Linked DNA regions of Homo sapiens: region 2 is linked to region 1. The links are contacts of gene promoters, found by promoter capture Hi-C in blood cells and fetal thymus (Javierre and others, 2016). All regions are on one chromosome and are shown on one strand. The core of a region is centred on a gene start or on the middle of the fragment in contact, and the rest is flanking DNA. Distances in the headings are between cores, read along the strand shown. Region 1 holds the start of CPA6 (carboxypeptidase A6). Region 2 overlaps CPA6 (carboxypeptidase A6).

What was found. Contacts are between HindIII fragments. The CHiCAGO score rates a contact against its expected background, and 5 or more counts as called.
Region 2: a contact is called between a fragment that was not itself captured here and the fragment with the promoter of CPA6 in region 1, in 1 of 17 cell types (M1 macrophages). The highest score is 6.9, in M1 macrophages.

Annotation. Positions count from the first base shown.
Region 1 is chr8:67,744,098-67,748,566 of GRCh38, reverse strand. CPA6 (carboxypeptidase A6) reads left to right here and starts at 2,207. Exons shown (of 11, transcript NM_020361.5): 1 at 2,207-2,553. The coding sequence starts at 2,438. RefSeq lists an enhancer at 1,881-2,381. The HindIII fragment of the contact is 5,003 bases long and covers 2,038-4,469 here.
Region 2 is chr8:67,508,891-67,513,359 of GRCh38, reverse strand. It overlaps CPA6 (carboxypeptidase A6), which reads left to right. Exons shown (of 11, transcript NM_020361.5): 4 at 1,705-1,819; 5 at 3,742-3,843. Among named protein-coding and RNA genes, the nearest start is that of ARFGEF1-DT, 170 kb to the right of the region's middle. RefSeq lists an enhancer at 448-1,050. The HindIII fragment of the contact is 572 bases long and covers 2,240-2,811 here.

The sequences.
Region 1 (4,469 bases), core at 958-3,457:
ATTGTTCTGACATAGCGAAATGCAAAGAGATGAAGTGTTTTATTTACACAGTAACCTCTTATTTCCACAGATCATTGGCTTTCCTGGGCTCATCTAAAAGGCCTGTGAGTACTGCTGTGAGTCTTGCAGAGCAGCCTGACCAGTTTAGGAAGACAAAAGTACAAGGCCAGGAAGTCAGGAAAGAAGGCAACATAAAAAAGAAACGAAACCAGACATGATCACCCGGGGAACTTCCACTCTCCAAAAGCACCCATAGTGTTCTCTGCTCCCAAGGTGCTCTCTCCTCTATCTGGACACAGAAGCATCTATGTTAATGTTTGTTAAATGAATTTCTTCCCTGGTTCATCGTTCATCCAACAGACATCGTTGATCACTCCTTCAGGAAACATTGTATTCCCTCGAGGAGGTATAAGGAAGTGCACAGGAAGACCAAAAGGATACAGTTCTGTATTCAAGGAGAAAGCAGCCTCATGAGGAAACCAGACAAGAAATTTGATGTGGTAATTCCTACAGTAGAGGACATGCCAGGATTTGTGAGGGACACAGAGGAGGCATTAACCAAACTGATGCTGAGAAAGTTGCAGAAAAATTCAGAGCATCATTTCAAATGAAAACCATTTCAGCTGTTTCATGAACCTGACATTGAATCTGTCAAAGGAGTTTTGGTTCAACTCCCCAGGTAGAGAAGATGGGAAAGATTGGGTGCTCTCTCTTCTAACAGGGACTCTGGCTATAGTATTAGAGGGTACAGGAGTTCTTGGCTATGACTCTCCAGGAAGCCTGAAAAGTTTTGTGAGTGTGATGAGGAAATAGTGGCTCACTCTCTGTTTTAGAGCACAACCAGGACTGGGCATGAAAGGTAACAGGAGGCACCCTAGGTGCCTATGCTTATTTAATAGGGCGAGGCACATCCCCTGTAATGGGTTTTGTGGCGTATTGGAATAGGAGCAAGTGGATGCAAATAATAATTTTAAAAAGCTTTCATCATCAACATGGGAAAAAAGAGAAGGAAATGGTTTTCTCCAAGGTTTGCTTGGAAGAAAAAGCAGACCTCATTCTAAAGTGAAGTCTTGCTACTCCAAGTGTGGCTGAAGAGCCAGTGGCACCAGCATCACCTGGAAGCTTCTTTAGAAATGCAGACTCGGCCAGGCGTGGTGGCTCACACCTGTAATCCCAGCACTTCGCAAGGCCGAGACAAGCAGATTGCCTGAGGTCACGAGTTCAAGACCAGCCTGACCGACATGGGGAAACCTCGTCTCTACTAAAAATACAAAAATTAGCTGGGCGTGGTGGTAGGCACCTGTAATCCGAGCTACTCAGGAGGCTGAGGCAGGAGAATCGCTTGAACCTGGGAGGCGGAGGTTGCAGTGAGCCGAGATGGGGACTTGGCACTCCATCCAGCCTGGGCAACAAGAGCGAAACTCTGTCTCAAAAAAGAAAAATAAAAACTCTTAGGCCCCTGTTCCAACCTACGTCAGAGCTGCAGTTTAATGAGATCCCCAGGTGACTTCTATGCATGTGGAGCTCTGAGAAGCCCTGCTCCAGACCAGCATGGTGGTTGAATATTGGAATCACCTAAGGAGCTTTTTAAACCACTGATCCCACCACCACGGTTTCTATTTTCAAGGTCTGGCTCCCTAAATGATTCCAAATGTACAGCCAAGGTGGCAAAGCACTCGAAGGCCTCCTATTCCCCACGAGAACCTCTGAAACAGCAGCAGGTCTGGGTGCTGCTGATGCAGAATGAGTACCAAGATCTCCCTGAAGCCCAATAAAGCCACTGACCACTCCTGTAAGTCAGGAGCAGTGAACTGAAGCCAGCTGTTCGGATCTGGGTGCTATAGGTACCCCCGTGCACGTTCTCATCATGATTGTTCATTGTGCATTTCATTAGGTGGAATCCGTTTAGGAATCTGTCATGGGAGATCAAAAAAACATTAAGCTTGGAATAATCCATGTCTGCTTGTTTAGCCCATCAGACAAATCATTTGCAATTAGGTAGGATCCTCATGCTGAAGAAGATAGAGAAAGAAAGCTTGCACAGAAAAGTTAGAGGCCTCAAGTTGGGAAAGCAAACAAACCAAAAGCAGAGAGGAGTCACCCAAAGGAAGCAGCACCCAGTGAACCCCTGCCGTGAGTCAGCACGAGGGAGGCCCAGCCCTTTCTAGGGGAGCCTGATTAAAGATCAGGCTCAGCTGCTGCTGCTGCTGCTGCTGCTTGTCCCAAGACCAAGTCGTAATAGCAACTTCCCTTCCTCAGCTGCCTGAACTTTTTTTTTCCCTTGTAGCTGGAGAGAAGTGTCACATTTTGCTCACTCTCAACCTTCCTCGCCCACCCCCTTCCCGGAGAACCTGTGCGGTGTGTAGAGGGTGCTGTGAGCCACCTCCAGCCTCGGGTGGCTGCTTAAGTAACTTTCAACTCCTCTCTTCTTAACACTATGAAGTGTCTCGGGAAGCGCAGGGGCCAGGCAGCTGCTTTCCTGCCTCTTTGCTGGCTCTTTTTGAAGATTCTGCAACCGGGGCACAGCCACCTTTATAACAACCGCTATGCTGGGTAAGTGGAGCGACATTCATGCCCTACACAGCTTTGATTTGGATCTGGGGGCTGGTTTGCTCCAGAGTGTGCCTCACTTTTTCTGATTTGGGGGTCTCTGAGTGAATCTGCACACTTTCACGGTCCTCTATATAAAATGTACTCACAGCTCTCTGCTCTTGGCTTTAGCTCACTGAGAGAATGTGGTGGGCTCCAACCTGGCTTTTTATACTTTTTATCATGTGCCAACCTTAGCTGTGGACCCAGGGTTGAATGGGATTCTGTCTTTGGAGTAGCCATGGTCAGTATTTACAGTGTTTGCCTTGGTTGATGCTTGGGGATGCTGTTGTCCTACATGATTTATGACCTGAAAACTAAGCCTTTCTTTACAATTGTATGTAGGAGCGGTGGGTTGAAATTCATCAGTGATTAAGAACTGAGTGTGATTTTTTTTTTGTCTGTGCTTATTAGTCTGTAGAGTGGTTATTAGATTTTTAAATATGAGCAATGCAAATGATTCAACTCAAAATAAGCAGAATAAAAGTAGTCAACTGTAAAATTATGGATAGTTTTTCTGAAGGAAAAACATAGGAGTAAAACAATCAGTTTTGTCCCCCCTCCGTAGGTAAGCATGCTTTCTATATGCCTTTCTTCAGGAGGCAGAGGGCTGGAAGCCGTGTGTTACTATGCACATTCTTATTATCCTGAAGGCTTGCTGTGGTATAGACAGCATGTGATTTGCTCACATATGCAGGGGGTCGTTCTTAGAATCTGGAAATTATGGCTTGCCTGCACTTTAGATCTGGAAAAACCTTAAATACTTCCTCTAGTTCAATTCCTTTTTACAGAGGAGTAAACTCAGTGTCTTACATATTTTTAAATAGGCTACTATCATTCAATAATCACCACCTGAGAAAAGTTTTCATGTAGATCTGGATCATGACAAGGTAGTGTACAGTGTCTTAAAACCAAGTTGTTCTTTTTAGAAATAGTGTAAAAGAGAATTTGTAAGTGTGACCCTGGAAAAGAGAATTGTATTTCTCTTTCTCTCCCAAAGAATCTTGGCACTGCCTTTAGGGTTCCTCTGAATACAGTGCTTACAGAGGAAATTTTGGAAACATGTCCTCAGTTTTAGGGGAGGCAGGATGAGATGGAGGTGTTGGCTGAGGTAGGGGCTATAGATGGCAATATGATCACGGATTTTTCCACCCCAGTATTTCTGGGAGGAACGGAAAGGAGTTAACATCCCAGGGCTGCCTTTTGGCCTGGACATACAAGATCTCAACTTTACCTCCGATAATTTGTGACCCCTTTAGAGATCTGGAAAAAAGAAGCTCATGTTTAAAGACTGATGGTGCAGGCTTGGGTTGTGGGGGACTTAATTCTGACTCTCCTGGCTGATGCCGGGTCAGATGATAAACATAGATCACAGATTTAGACACACGTGTATGACCTAAGACCTCACTCCTCCACTCAGCTGTGGCTCTGTGCATAATTATTTCAGCGTGTGGCACTCCTCCGTGAAAAGTTACCAGGCCTGCTTCAGCTGAGCAGGTGTGCACCCTTCCCTAAGCACCACTTTGAAGAGGAAATGAGGCCAGTGGTGGCACCCTTTTCGTATAGAATTTGTAGCGACTGGAACCCTTCAGGAAAAAGTTTCATTACCTTCTCTGTTTTCAGCAATGGACATAATAATTGCTATTTTCTCTTCAGTTGCTACATAAGTTAATCCCAAGTGTATAAATTACCAGATGTCTAAGAGTAGGAGGGAAGAAAAAGATGAGAGAATGAAAAGAAGTGAGTCTCACTCAACCATTGCAATACAAGCCTAGAGCTTCTTTAAAAGCAAAAATATTTCTGAGCATATTCACTGTTAAAAATGGGGAATTCTACCTTCATTAGACATGTCATTTTCTCATCGCAAAAGACAGAAATGC
Region 2 (4,469 bases), core at 1,276-3,775, 240 kb after region 1:
CCCTCTTGACCATCCCAGATTCTCTCCTAACACAAGGAAGTTAGAAAATTGACATGGAGGTTCATTTGGCTCAAGACTTACTTTAGCAATATTGTAAAATTCTTTAGCCCATACAAGCCTAATCATCTGTAACTTCCTACTTTGAGGGTAAAAAAGAAAGCACTAATACAGATGGTGTTCAGACTAACAACAACCTCCCACTCACATTTTGAGCCACTGCAAGCAGCCATCAGGGACTTAACCAAGCTTTGAGCCACCTCACCTTACCTCGATTTCTAAAATGTTTTCAGTTTTAAAATCAAAAATTGAAACAAAAAAAGCAGTAAGTCAATGATCAATTCCTGATTAAGTGTTTTGTCCATAGTAGGTGCTCAATAAATAACAAATGAGTAAATGAAAAAGAATGTCCTATACCCAGTATGACCCTAAGTTAATTTACTTTCTTCATAGAATGGAAAATATTTCTTTAGGTGATTCAATATAATTTTTTAAAATAATTTTTAAACATTAATATTAAAGGCTTTAAATAACTTTCAGCCTTGAAATTATTTAAAGATGCCATTATATGTTCTTTTAATAGCACTTAAACCATTAAACAACAGGTTCTTTTGGAAAATAAAATATGAAAGCAAAGCTTTTTAGCTACCTGCCAGGCCCAGGAAAATCACTGGGGGGCTTTCTAACATCTTTAAGTAATGCAAATGACTGAAGTGCTTTGCTACTGTGTGAAACTCTAGTTAGTGGAGGCTGGTGAGCATTGAGAAGACAGGCCTGTATTTATCTAACTCACATGTCACATCAAGAACACTAATGACTCTGCCTGGAGCTGGTTCCACAAAGCCTGGAATCCCCGCCCTGGCCTCAGCCTTTAATTTCCAAATGCATTCACTATAATTGGCTGAGCTTCTCTTCTCTTGGCATTCTTGATGCTGGCAGGCAGTGAAATCGCTTTTTCCAACTCTGGGTATTTCTTCAGTTTCCTCTTGAGGACTGTAGCTTCTTTTCCCCTTTCCCTTTTCTCTCTGTCTTGGGTCAGGGGTGCTGGGTAGTGACATGAGCATAGTCTCTTGGTGATGGAAGGGATGTGTGCAGGAAGAAGCAGCAGGAAAAAGAAAGTGGTAAGGGCATGGAAGAGAAGCCTAGGCTCAGTTTTCATGAAGTGACCCTGGACTTAGAATCTCAAGATTGGAATTTGGGTTCACCTTCCAAGTTCAAATTCTGGCTTGGCACTGACCAGTAGAGGGATATTGGTGAGTTCTTAACCCTTTTGAGACTCAGTTTCCCCATTTTATAAATACCAATAACAAGAGAATCTACCACATAGACTATAGGGCTATTAGCTAAGATTATGTACATAAAAGACACAGCACAGTGCCTGGCTGCTGGTAGGTAAGTAGTACTCAGTAAATCTAAGTGCTCGTAGTCATCATTCGGTTGTTGCAGCTGCAAATCAGCAGTAGCTATTGTTACTACTACTATCACTTGAGGATATCTGCCTATAATTTTACATGTTAAATTCATTATACCACTTATTTAACAGTTTTCATTTCCTGAAAAATAACATTTTCCCAACATTTGGTATTTTTAGGAATATTGATCACCACAGTCTTTCTTTACATAGATGCATATGATTTTTTCTGGGTGTTGCCTGATTTTTGCAATATCTCAATTTACTTTTCATCATGTCTGTCATTCCAAATTCAGGGTCCTCATAGAAGATCTTCAGAAAACACTGGAGAAGGGAAGCAGCTTGCACACCCAGAGAAACCGAAGATCCCTCTCTGGATATAATTATGAAGTTTATCACTCCTTAGAAGAAGTATGTAATCAAAAGAGCTTTTTCTGGTTTTTCACAGAGTCATCTTTATCATTTAGGTCTAAGGGAGAAAATTATGTGTTTTATGCTTCTAGGGGAGAAGCATAAAGACAGAGAAGGTACTATGTGAAGAATATATGTAGCTTTTACATGGCCCAGGCACCTTATCTCTTCTATTAAGTCTTTGATGGTATATAAGAAGTATCAAAATAATTTTAATTTCATTTGCTTTACCCATACCACTTTTACATAGGACATAGGAAGCACAATGGAAGAGTGAGGAAATGTTGCTATAATTATCGCTATAATGGCCTTCACTAACAAGCCAAGAAACATAAAGCTAACCAGAGTTTGAGGAAATGATGAATAAAGTGGACCTTACTTGTACCCTCTGCAAAGTTGAGACCTCTCAAAGGCAAAGCTTCATTTGGGGCATCTCTGCACCTTTGAGCATGCTTTTTTATCCTACCTGGAGAACTGACAGCCACCTCATCCACACTGTCACATCCTTTACTATTCACCTGGACAGGTTGTTGTTCTGCAAATCTCAGCTTAAGCAAAAAGGTAGCTGTTCCTATTCTCCCAGATTGGATTAAACCCCTCCTCCACCAACACCTAGTGAATTACATGCCCCCATAGCACAAGGATGTGATACCTATCACAGTTTTTAATTATGTAATTATGTGAGTATTTGATTAATGCCTTTCACCTCTAATAAGCTACAAGTTCCATGAGCGCAGGCCACTTCTTTCTTATTCACCGCTGTAACTCCAGTGGCAGGCAAACAGTGACCTCCAAATACATAGTTGTTGACAGAGGAATAAATGAATGAATCATACATTTTCCATGCTTCCTCTGAATTGAACAAAGGAATGCCAGACATAAAATAAATGAGATGCTGCTCTATTCTTAAGACGGTTTTTGGTTCTCTTGATAACAACTCTCCTTTCAAAATTATCTCCACATATTTCATGTCTAAACATGTTTTGGAAGCTTAAAATTAGAAGCAATAGAAAGGTTTTAGATAACTTTGCACACAGAAGTACTGTTAACATGCACTAGAAAACAGTCAAATTTTACAAATATAATATAGATATGCATAATGTATGTGTATACACACACACACACACACACACATATATCCTGCTCATTAGATTAAATAAGAATAGAAAGAAAAGAATATATGGGTACTTTCCTGAATATATTTAGCTATTTTTTCAGCACTGATCCTTTTATACCATAAAATGGTAGGACACTTTTGTGTTGTTTTTTTACACCTTATAAGGCTTTTAAGTCAGGAATGAAGTACCTTATTCATTCAAATGTATCTTTTCCTGATGACAGATAAGTGTATATGAATGGATCAATGCAAATGTATCACTATCACTGGAGAAATTATTCAGAGTTTGCCCTCTGATATGTAGCTCAGTAAAAGAACCTTTAAATGGAAAAAGATAATGCCTTTTTCTTAGCATTTTCTTTCAGTGGCAAATTGTAATATATGGGACTTTAAGAAACACTTTCAAGTAGTTTGGACAGTTTTCCTAAAGTTGATTTATTTCTTTACCTCTTAAATACTTGTGGAAAATAGAAATAAATTCTGATTTTCAAAAAAACTAGAACACATCAATTTTTTATAAAAATCTGTTACCCGTATATTAATGATATATGGTAGTAGAAGGTATGCTTTAATGGAAGAACTATATAAAGACATAAGCTACTATCTGTAAAGGCAGAAAATTAAATGTAATTTTAAGTATCCCAAAGAAAATTAAAAATAAGAAGTAGGTTTTTTGTTCAATTTTATATTCCATGTGCACTCCTTGAATTCGGAGAACTACTGTTGTCTTTTTGTTTCCTTTTGTTCTCTAAAAGCTCCATTATTTTGAGAGAGTCTAACATAGTTTTTATTTATTTGCTCTTAGATTCAAAATTGGATGCATCATCTGAATAAAACTCACTCAGGCCTCATTCACATGTTCTCTATTGGAAGATCATATGAGGGAAGATCTCTTTTTATTTTAAAGGTAAAAATAAGCAATTGCTGTGTAAATACATAATGTTTACCAAATATCCATCTTTTTCAACTTTAACCTATGGGAAAAGAAATGAAATGATCTTTTATAGAGTCTCATATTTAACATCATCTGATAATCTCAGAAATACTTTCCCTTAGGTTTCTGAACCATATTTCATTTTTGCCATTGGATATTTCAGAGAATACTTTTGCCAACATTTTCAGTTATTGATGCGAAGTATTTGTGAGTTGGTGCTGCCTGAGGTGAACCAATGCAAAACTATTTAAATGTATAAGAAGCTGCTATGGTTTGGGTCTGTGTCCCCACCCAAATCTCACTTCAAATTGTAATTTCCAAAGTTGTGGGAGGAACCTGGTGGGAGGTGATTGAATCATGAAGGCAGATTTCCCCCTTGCTGTTCTTGTGATAGTGAGTTCTCATGAGATCTGGTTGTTTAAAAGTGTGTAGCACTTCCCCCTTCGCTCTCTTCCTCCTGCTCCACCATGTAAGCTGTGCCTCCTTCCTCTCCTCCTTCTGCCATGACTCTAAGTTTCCTGAGGCCTCCCCAGCCATGCTTCCTGTACAGCCTACGGAACTGTGAGCCAATTAAACCTCTTTTATTTATAACTACCCAG